Linked DNA regions of Homo sapiens: regions 2 and 3 are each linked to region 1. Evidence: promoter capture Hi-C in 16 types of primary human blood cells and fetal thymus (Javierre and others, 2016). All regions are on one chromosome and are shown on one strand. Each heading gives the region's core, a stretch centred on a gene start or on the middle of the fragment in contact. The rest is flanking DNA. Distances are from core to core; before and after follow the strand shown. Region 1 holds the start of ANO1 (anoctamin 1). Region 2 holds the start of FGF4 (fibroblast growth factor 4). Region 3 holds the start of FGF3 (fibroblast growth factor 3).

Region 1 (2,773 bases), core at 69-2,568:
TAGGTCCCACAAATTGCTGCTGAGAGCTTCCCTCACCCCAAGAGGAGATAGCCAGTCCCAGCCCTGTCCTATCCTCTTCCGGCAAACTTTGTCCTTCAAGCCAAACCCTTCCTGGGAGAATTCTGCCCCCCTCTCTAAAACATAGGGTTACCTAGACCTCTGGGTCTGGCCCTGGGGAGGGTGGTGGGGATATTGGGGACCTCAGGATGGGGTCCCCAACTTACATGACTGGCTTCCAACCAGTGCCCCCACCTGAACCAGGCCTGGGCGCCCAGGGGAGACAGGGGCGAGGGTAGAAAGCAATCTCCAATGATTGACACCCTGGGCTTTGAGAGTTTCGGTGCCAATGCCAGGGTACCAGGCCCAGTGCCCTGGGCACAATATGCGTTTCTGGCAAGTGAGGACTCGGGACTCTGGCCCCAGAGGATAGTGAAGCAGTGGGGCCTGGCAGTTACCATCATCGTGGAGTGGCGACCAACTTGGCCTTCACCCAAGACCCCCACCATCACCCTCACCCTGGCTGCCCCAACAGGTACCCCTGGCCGCGAGCCAGGAAGGGAAGGTCCCATCCAGGGCGCCAGCCGTGAGCTCTTGGTTGGGCTCCGAGCTGCAGCCCCGGGTGAGGCGGCTTCGGGGCCGCAGAGCTCCGAGGCCGGGCCATGCCTGGGGGCCCGGCGCTGCGCTGGGCGGAGTGGGCGCCGCGCTCGGAACGCTCAGAGCGCAGGCGGGGCGCACGCACTTGGCCAGGGCCGGCGCGCCCTTCCCGGCACGCACGTGCGCGGGTGGGCGCCGCGAACCCTGCGCGGAGGGTGCGGCCCCCGCCCTGGGGTCCCAGGAGGCCCTGCCGCCGCCCGGTTCCCGCCCTCGCCAAGGCGCAGGTGCGCGGCCCTCCCGCCCGGGTCGCGGCCGCCCGCACTCACCGTGCCCTCGGACGGCAGGTAGCCGATGTCCTCGATGGCGCAGATGTTGATGATGTGGACGCTGCGGTCCTCGGCCGGGAGCGTCGAGTACTTCTCGTTGACCCTCATCGTGGCCGCCTGTGCGCTGGGACCGCCGGGCGGCGCGCCCTCCCCATCCACGGCCCCGGCGGCCTCTGCGGGCGGAGACCGCAGCGTTCGCGGCGCGCTCGCAGGGGGCCGGGCCTCCCCGCGCCCAGGCCCGCCGGGGACGTGGCCGCCTCCCGCTCCGCCCGCCGCCCTGGCCCGCCCGGCCCGCGCGCTCGATGCGGGGGGCGCCTGAGCCTCTCGGGGCCGATCGCGCCGCCACCCGGCTGCTGGTCCCGCGGGCCGGCCCGCGCCTGGTCAGGAACTTGGACGCCAGCCGGCCCGCCTTTGCCTTAAAGATATAAGCGCTCTCCGCCCGCCTATGGCAGGGGCGGTGGCCGCGCCGGTCAGATTTTCCGTAGAAATTTAAACACAGGAAGAAAAAGTATTCCATTCCTGCGGGCCCCTCCAAGTTTTATTTTTATCCAGGGAAAGTGCCCCTTTGGATTTTTGAGGGTTTTCATACCGGGTGTGAAAGGGGGGAACTTTCAATAGCCCCACCTGAAATAAAGTCCCCGAGTGGCAGGCGCTTCTGTGGCGCGTCACCTCCGCCTCCGGGGGGAGTGAAGCTTCTGAGATTGGAGTCTGGATCTCTGCCCCTTTCCCTCCACCCTGGCAAACTCCTGCTGTCACTCAGCACTCACCTCCTCCGGGGAGCTTGCCTGGTTCCTGCCGACCCGCCCCCTCCAGCTGCCCGCGCTCCTGGGGGAGTCTCTCCCGGGGCAGTCATCTCCCTGGAGCCCACTGATGTTACCGGTGCCCCCGAGTTTACGGAGTGCTTAGTGTTCTGTGCCCAGGTGCGTGCAGCGTCCCTGATGTAGGGCGTGAGTGTGTATCATCTCATTTAACCCCGCACCTGCAAGGTTGGAATGCGGGTCCTCATTTTGCAGAGGACACTCAGGCTTAGGAGGGCCAAGGACCAGTCCGCATCCTCTGAGGTGGGGCGGGGCTCCTGCAGAGCTTTCCCCACTGCTGGGCAAGGCTGTCCTGCTTTCTGGAGGGGCGGAGCGGGGGGGATGGTGGCTTTGATCTCTCTTACCCCCGGACCTAGCAGGGGTCTGGCACACTGCAGATCTTCAAGTCTTCTTCCCCTAAGGAGAATAAGGCAGGTCCCCAGGGGACGACCATACTCAGGTTAAGCCCCAGGGGCCATGCTGGCCACCACATCCAGTGGAAATAAAGTGTCCCTCTGCCTCTCACATCCTATGAGTTCTTCACGGTGTGCATCAGATAGCACCTCCTGCAGGAAGTCCTGCTGGATTCTCCCCTACTGTCCCCTTCCCACCCAAATATGCAGGCCTTCCTGTCTATCCAAAGAACCTGCCTGAACCCCAACTAGCACTTCATTTATTCCGTCTCATTTTACAGTGGGTTGTCTACCAGGTTCACACAGCCGATGCTCAATAATTGCTTGTTAAATGGCCACTGGGGAACATTCAAGGCCTACAGAAGTGATTAGAAAATTGTCTTTAAAGGCCACGATGTCGTCAGCGTGCCATGGTTCCAAGCATGGAACCTGGAGTCAGCTAGGATAGGGTTGGAGAGAAGGGGTGGGGTCTAGCTCCAGCTCTGGCACCTTCCAGCCTTGTGACCTTGTGCCAGCCTCCTTGGCCTCAGAGCCTCCTGGGCCTCAGAGCCTCTGCCTTCTCATGGGAGTTTTAAGCGTGCCTGAAGCTGCCAGGCTTAGCAATGGTGACTGTTGTCACTACTAATGTCATCTTGTCATGACC
Region 2 (2,773 bases), core at 166-2,665, 300 kb after region 1:
TCTGGGGGACCCCAGGACCCAGAGGCAGCCGGGTTGCATCTCGAAGCTGTGAGCTGCAGCCCAGGAAGGTCCAGGTCTGGGTGGCGCTGCCCAAGCAGGCTGCAGGCCCAAGGAGGAACAAAGATCCTCTCAAGGGGTGCGGAGCTGAGGTTCCGGTCCTGCCAAAGCCACTTGATGACCCCCAAGTGCCCCCCTTTCTGCACCTCAGAGAAGAGCCCTCAAGCCTCCCAGGTCCCCTCCAGGGGCACGAATAAGCCCCAGCAGGGTTCTGAAGGGGTCCCAGGAATCTCCCTGTGGGGATGCGGTGGAGGTGGAGGAGGCTGCGGTGGCCTGGGGACATCTCTGGTCACAGGTGCTGGTGGTATGAGAGATGGGGTAGGCACCAAGCCCCCTGCAGCTGTGGCTAGGCGGGCCTGCAGGAAGGGCCAGGCAGGCTCCTCAGGGACCACAAAGAACAGGGGTTTTCACACCTAGGTGGGCCTGCATCTAGCTAGGACAGTCCCCATCAGGCCATAATGGGCACAGTGGGAGGTAGAACCATGAGTGAGAGAGGGGAGGCTTCCAGAGGCCTGGCCTGGGTCCCTGCTAGATTGAGGGCTCTGGCTATGGTACATGGATATTTCTGCTGTGGAATCAAAGGAGCAGGGGATGCTGAATATCCCCTCTGGCCCTATGCCCTGCTACCTGTCCTTTCACGGAAGGGTGTGTGTGTAGGGGGTGCAGGACCAGGCCTCCCTGGGTGCATCTCTGCCACCTTGCCCTTTGGCTCAGGTGGACCTCCACCAGGTATTCAGAACTCCAGCCCAGAAACGCGCCAAGCCTGTGGGGCCAAGACCTAGGGGGTGGGGGTGGCCTCCCTCCCGCCTGTAGCCAAAGGGTCCTCCCTTGCCCAGCCAGGCCCCGGTGTCGCTTACTGCTCTTATCCACCCCTCCTTCCCAGGCCGGTCCTCAAGGCCCCAGCAAAGGAACCAAGTTCCCGTGAGCCTCCGAAAGGCGAAGGGCAGGCAGCAGCCGCTGGCTTCTGCGCCCACTAGGAGCTTCGGATGCCCGAGTTAGGGCTGCGCCAAGGCGGCCGGAGCAGAGAGGGAGACGGGGACGGGGACAGGCAGGGACAAAGTGCAAGAGGCAAAACTGGCTGAAAAGCAGAAGTGTAGGAGCCGCCAAGGGGCGGGACGAACAGGTCCGTGGGCCGGGCGGAGCCAAGGGTGGGGGCCGGGGTCCCTCCAGGTGGCACTCGCGGCGCTAGTCCCCAGCCTCCTCCCTTCCCCCGGCCCTGATTGGCAGGCGGCCTGCGACCAGCCGCGAACGCCACAGCGCCCCGGGCGCCCAGGAGAACGCGAACGGCCCCCCGCGGGAGCGGGCGAGTAGGAGGGGGCGCCGGGCTATATATATAGCGGCTCGGCCTCGGGCGGGCCTGGCGCTCAGGGAGGCGCGCACTGCTCCTCAGAGTCCCAGCTCCAGCCGCGCGCTTTCCGCCCGGCTCGCCGCTCCATGCAGCCGGGGTAGAGCCCGGCGCCCGGGGGCCCCGTCGCTTGCCTCCCGCACCTCCTCGGTTGCGCACTCCTGCCCGAGGTCGGCCGTGCGCTCCCGCGGGACGCCACAGGCGCAGCTCTGCCCCCCAGCTTCCCGGGCGCACTGACCGCCTGACCGACGCACGGCCCTCGGGCCGGGATGTCGGGGCCCGGGACGGCCGCGGTAGCGCTGCTCCCGGCGGTCCTGCTGGCCTTGCTGGCGCCCTGGGCGGGCCGAGGGGGCGCCGCCGCACCCACTGCACCCAACGGCACGCTGGAGGCCGAGCTGGAGCGCCGCTGGGAGAGCCTGGTGGCGCTCTCGTTGGCGCGCCTGCCGGTGGCAGCGCAGCCCAAGGAGGCGGCCGTCCAGAGCGGCGCCGGCGACTACCTGCTGGGCATCAAGCGGCTGCGGCGGCTCTACTGCAACGTGGGCATCGGCTTCCACCTCCAGGCGCTCCCCGACGGCCGCATCGGCGGCGCGCACGCGGACACCCGCGACAGTGAGTGGCGCGGCCAGGCGCGAAGGGGCGGGGGCGGGGGGCAACGGCCGCCGGGCCAACCCGCTCAGTCACACTCTGAGACCCTCGGCGGGCACCTGCTCGGGGGCCCCGGGAACCGGGGCGGACTCGGGCTCCGGTCCCTTCTGACGCGGGGCTGGGGACGCAGACACTCTTGGCTCCGGCAGCCCAGCGCAACCCCTGAGGTCGGGCGCCGCCTCCCGCCTTCAGAAACTCGGGCTCCGAGCGCCGAATTCCAGCGCCTTCGCCCGTGGGCACAGGGCGCGCGGTGCAGCCACAGGGGGCCCGAGACACGCGCCCCGGCCTGGCCCAGGCTGGGGAACCGCTGGGGTCGGGCTCGCGTCTGAAGGTCCGGGACTGGGTGCGGCCGCCGGGGGTCCCCTACACAGGCAAGCTAATCTGAGCTAGCGCAGGCTTGGGCTCCGGAGGCCCTAGAGGGCAGCTTGGGCTCTGGAGGCCCTTGGGGGCGGCTGCGCCGGGAACCCTGGCCCTTTATCCCCAACCCCACCCCAGAAATAGGGTCCCCGGAGGCGAACAAGCCGAGGGGCGGAGTGGGCCAGGGATCACCTGCCCCGCAATGACCTGCGCCCCGCCCCCAGGCCTGCTGGAGCTCTCGCCCGTGGAGCGGGGCGTGGTGAGCATCTTCGGCGTGGCCAGCCGGTTCTTCGTGGCCATGAGCAGCAAGGGCAAGCTCTATGGCTCGGTGAGTACCGCAGGGGTCTGGCTAGGCACCTAGTTGGGAAC
Region 3 (2,773 bases), core at 158-2,657, 260 kb after region 1:
CATCAAGAGTCTGAGGCTCCAGTAGTTCAGTGGCTGGCCTCTGGCCTGTTCAAGGACTCTCACAAGCTGGCCCTGGGGCAGCGGCTAGGAGACCCTGACTAAGACTGAGGTGCTCGGGGATGGCTTGGGGGCGCCCTCCTTCAGGATGGCCACCTGGACCCTGTGCACGCTGGAGTGGGCTCACAGAGGACACACTGCCCTGTGTGTATTGGGCCATGGGAGCTGGACACGTCCCAGGGGTGTGTGCTCACTGCCACAGCTCATGGTGCCCTGCACACTTGCCTGACCCCAAACCCTGATGCAGATGGCAGGCTGGGGAATGTCAGCCCACCCAACTCACCCCAGAGCCCCTGGTCAACTTGGAGCCAAAGCTGTGGCCTAGACCCCTGGACTCCACAGCGTGCCCTCCTCTGGGGCAGGGTTGAGAGAAGCAAATCCCCTGTGCTGGCCCCTGCTTCCTGCTGGCCCCAGGACCCTGGGGGACAGAGGACCAGGAAGCAAGAGAAATGGGTGGGGACATGGCTTTTCCCGATACTTTTTGAAGCCCCTCTTCACTGGGCCCCCTGAGATACACCTTGACCCCCACACAGTCCAGGGGACCACCTGGGCATCTGCACTGATTCAGATCCTCCAGGCCAGGACTCCCCCACACCCATTCCCAGCTTCTACCGGGTTCCTCTTGTCATCACCCACCCGCTGTGGCTACCAGACTCCCTGTGCTTTTCTCTGGGTGTTCTCCGCGGCTCTGTCTTCTTTCCATCTCCCCTGCCTCCTCTTTTTGGCGATCTCTGTCATTCACATTTTCCATGTCTTTCCCGTCCTTTCCTCCTCCGTTTCTGTCTGTCTCTATCTGCATCTCTTTCTCTCTAGGGCTCTCTGTCGGCGCCCACTTCTCTGGCTCTCGCGTCCCTCCTCCCGCCTCCCCAGGCCCCTCTCTGGACCGTCACTGGGACGGGATCCTCCGAGGCCTGCCAGACGAGAGCTAACCCCACCACTCCGGGTGCCCAGTTGGTGTGCGCAAAAGGAGATAGCATCTCCAGACCCGGCCTGCCCCGCGCCTTGCAAGGCTGAGGACAGCGCCACTGCTCCTGCAGGAAGCGCCGGGCGCAGACACAAACCCGGAGCTCCCCACGCGTGCCCGCGCCCCGGAGCCTCCCTGCCGCCGCCCTCCGCGGTCCCCTTCATTATGCGCCGCCTTTAATGGGCGTTTGTCAGCTCGACTTCCCCGCAAGTTGTTTTCACGGACATCAGTCATCGGCGGCGGCCCCATTGTGCAGGGGGATTGATGGGGAGCGGGAGGGGGTGACAGGGCCTGGGGCGGCCTCCTCAAGGCCTCGGTCTATAATTTTCGGAGGCATAATTGGTCTGGGGGAGGGGGCGGGGGAGGGGCGGGTAGGGGACCTTTCAGAGCCAGGAGGGCTTTCGGGGGCGTGGGGCGCGCTGCGGAGCGGAGCCGCGGCTCGACGGCGGTGCGCTGGCGGCGAGTGTATGCAGACGGCGCCCGGCCCGAACCCCGAGCCCCGCGGGGCTCCCCACCCGCCGGCCTCCCGCCCCTCCCGCGCCTCCGCCTGGGGACCACGTCGGCCTTTTGTTGGCGAACCGTCCTTTCTTTCAGCGCTTTGCGCAGCAACGGAAATTTCATTGCTCCTGGGTGGAAATTAAAGGGACTCGCGTTCCCTCTCTCCCTCTCCCTCTCCCACTCTCCCTCTCTTTCTCTCTCTCGCCCACCCTTCCCCCTTCTTCCCCCACCTTTCCCGCGAAGCCGGAGTCAGCATCTCCAGGCGCGGGATCCCGCTCCGAGCACCTCGCAGCTGTCCGGCTGCCGCCCCTTCCATGGGCGCCGCGCTCGCCTGCAGCCGCCGCCGCCGCGGGGCGGGCGCGATGCCACGATGGGCCTAATCTGGCTGCTACTGCTCAGCCTGCTGGAGCCCGGCTGGCCCGCAGCGGGCCCTGGGGCGCGGTTGCGGCGCGATGCGGGCGGCCGTGGCGGCGTCTACGAGCACCTTGGCGGGGCGCCCCGGCGCCGCAAGCTCTACTGCGCCACGAAGTACCACCTCCAGCTGCACCCGAGCGGCCGCGTCAACGGCAGCCTGGAGAACAGCGCCTACAGTGAGTGCCGGACGCTGCGGGGCCCCGGGGGAAGCGGCGCCGGGAGGGGTCGGGCCCGGGAGAAGGCGCGCTGCGGGGCCCCGCGGGGGAGGCGGCGCCGGGGAGGGGTCTGGCCCGGGAGAAGGCATGGTGCGCCCGGGGTGTCCGGGAAAAGACCGTCTGCCTCCCGCTGCCAGAAGGGGAATGCCAGGGTGCCCTCCTCAACCTACACGTCCGGGAGAAGAGCGCGCGCTGGGGTTCGAGCAGAACTCGGGGGCATGGGCGTTCACGTCCGAAGAGGGCGCCGGCGGCTGTCAGAGTCCGTCCCCGGTCCGGCCCGCTGGTCTGAGGGGACGCGAGCTAGGCGACCCCGGGGCTCCAGGCTCTGCTGCTTTGGGCAGCTCTGACAAGTTTAAGCCCTTTGAATGTGTCGGAGAAAAGGAGCCGGACAAGGCATTTATCATCCTCTTTATTATTTTGACGACTTCTCCTCCTCCTGCCGACCCCTGGACGCCCCGCCGTCCCCTCCGCCCTCCCCGCTCGCGGCTGCCCAGGTGGCCGCCCCCGCTGCTGCCTCTGCGCGGAGGACTCTTGCCCTGCGGAGCTCGGTTCCCTGGCCGCGGCCGCCACCGACAGTTATTCCCCGCGCTGGAATCTGCACCTCCCCCGCCTCCGCCCTGGCCGC

The links. The method cuts DNA at HindIII sites, captures the fragments that hold promoters and counts their contacts. A CHiCAGO score of 5 or more calls a contact.
Region 2: a contact is called between the fragment with the promoter of FGF4 here and the fragment with the promoter of ANO1 in region 1, in 11 of 17 cell types (endothelial precursors, naive CD8 T cells, M0 macrophages and 8 more). The highest score is 12.7, in endothelial precursors.
Region 3: the fragment with the promoter of FGF3 here is called in contact with the fragment with the promoter of ANO1 in region 1 in 4 of 17 cell types (neutrophils, M0 macrophages, total CD4 T cells and 1 more); the score reaches 7.4 in neutrophils.

The regions. Positions count from the first base shown.
Region 1 is chr11:70,076,862-70,079,634 of GRCh38, reverse strand. ANO1 (anoctamin 1) reads right to left here and starts at 1,318. Exons shown (of 26, transcript NM_018043.7): 1 at 921-1,318. The coding sequence starts at 1,028. The HindIII fragment of the contact is 4,637 bases long and covers 1-1,614 here.
Region 2 is chr11:69,773,983-69,776,755 of GRCh38, reverse strand. FGF4 (fibroblast growth factor 4) reads left to right here and starts at 1,415. Exons shown (of 3, transcript NM_002007.4): 1 at 1,415-2,011; 2 at 2,629-2,732. The coding sequence starts at 1,672. RefSeq lists enhancers at 1-666, 2,516-2,773 and promoters at 1,131-1,526, 414-1,526. The HindIII fragment of the contact is 22,710 bases long and covers 1-2,773 here.
Region 3 is chr11:69,818,050-69,820,822 of GRCh38, reverse strand. It overlaps FGF3 (fibroblast growth factor 3), which reads left to right and starts at 1,407. Exons shown (of 3, transcript NM_005247.4): 1 at 1,407-2,109. The coding sequence starts at 1,890. It overlaps LOC107984368 (a long non-coding RNA gene), which reads right to left and starts at 2,115. Exons shown (of 3, transcript XR_001748071.2): 1 at 1,750-2,115. RefSeq lists promoters at 1,398-1,544, 955-1,792. The HindIII fragment of the contact is 14,087 bases long and covers 1-2,773 here.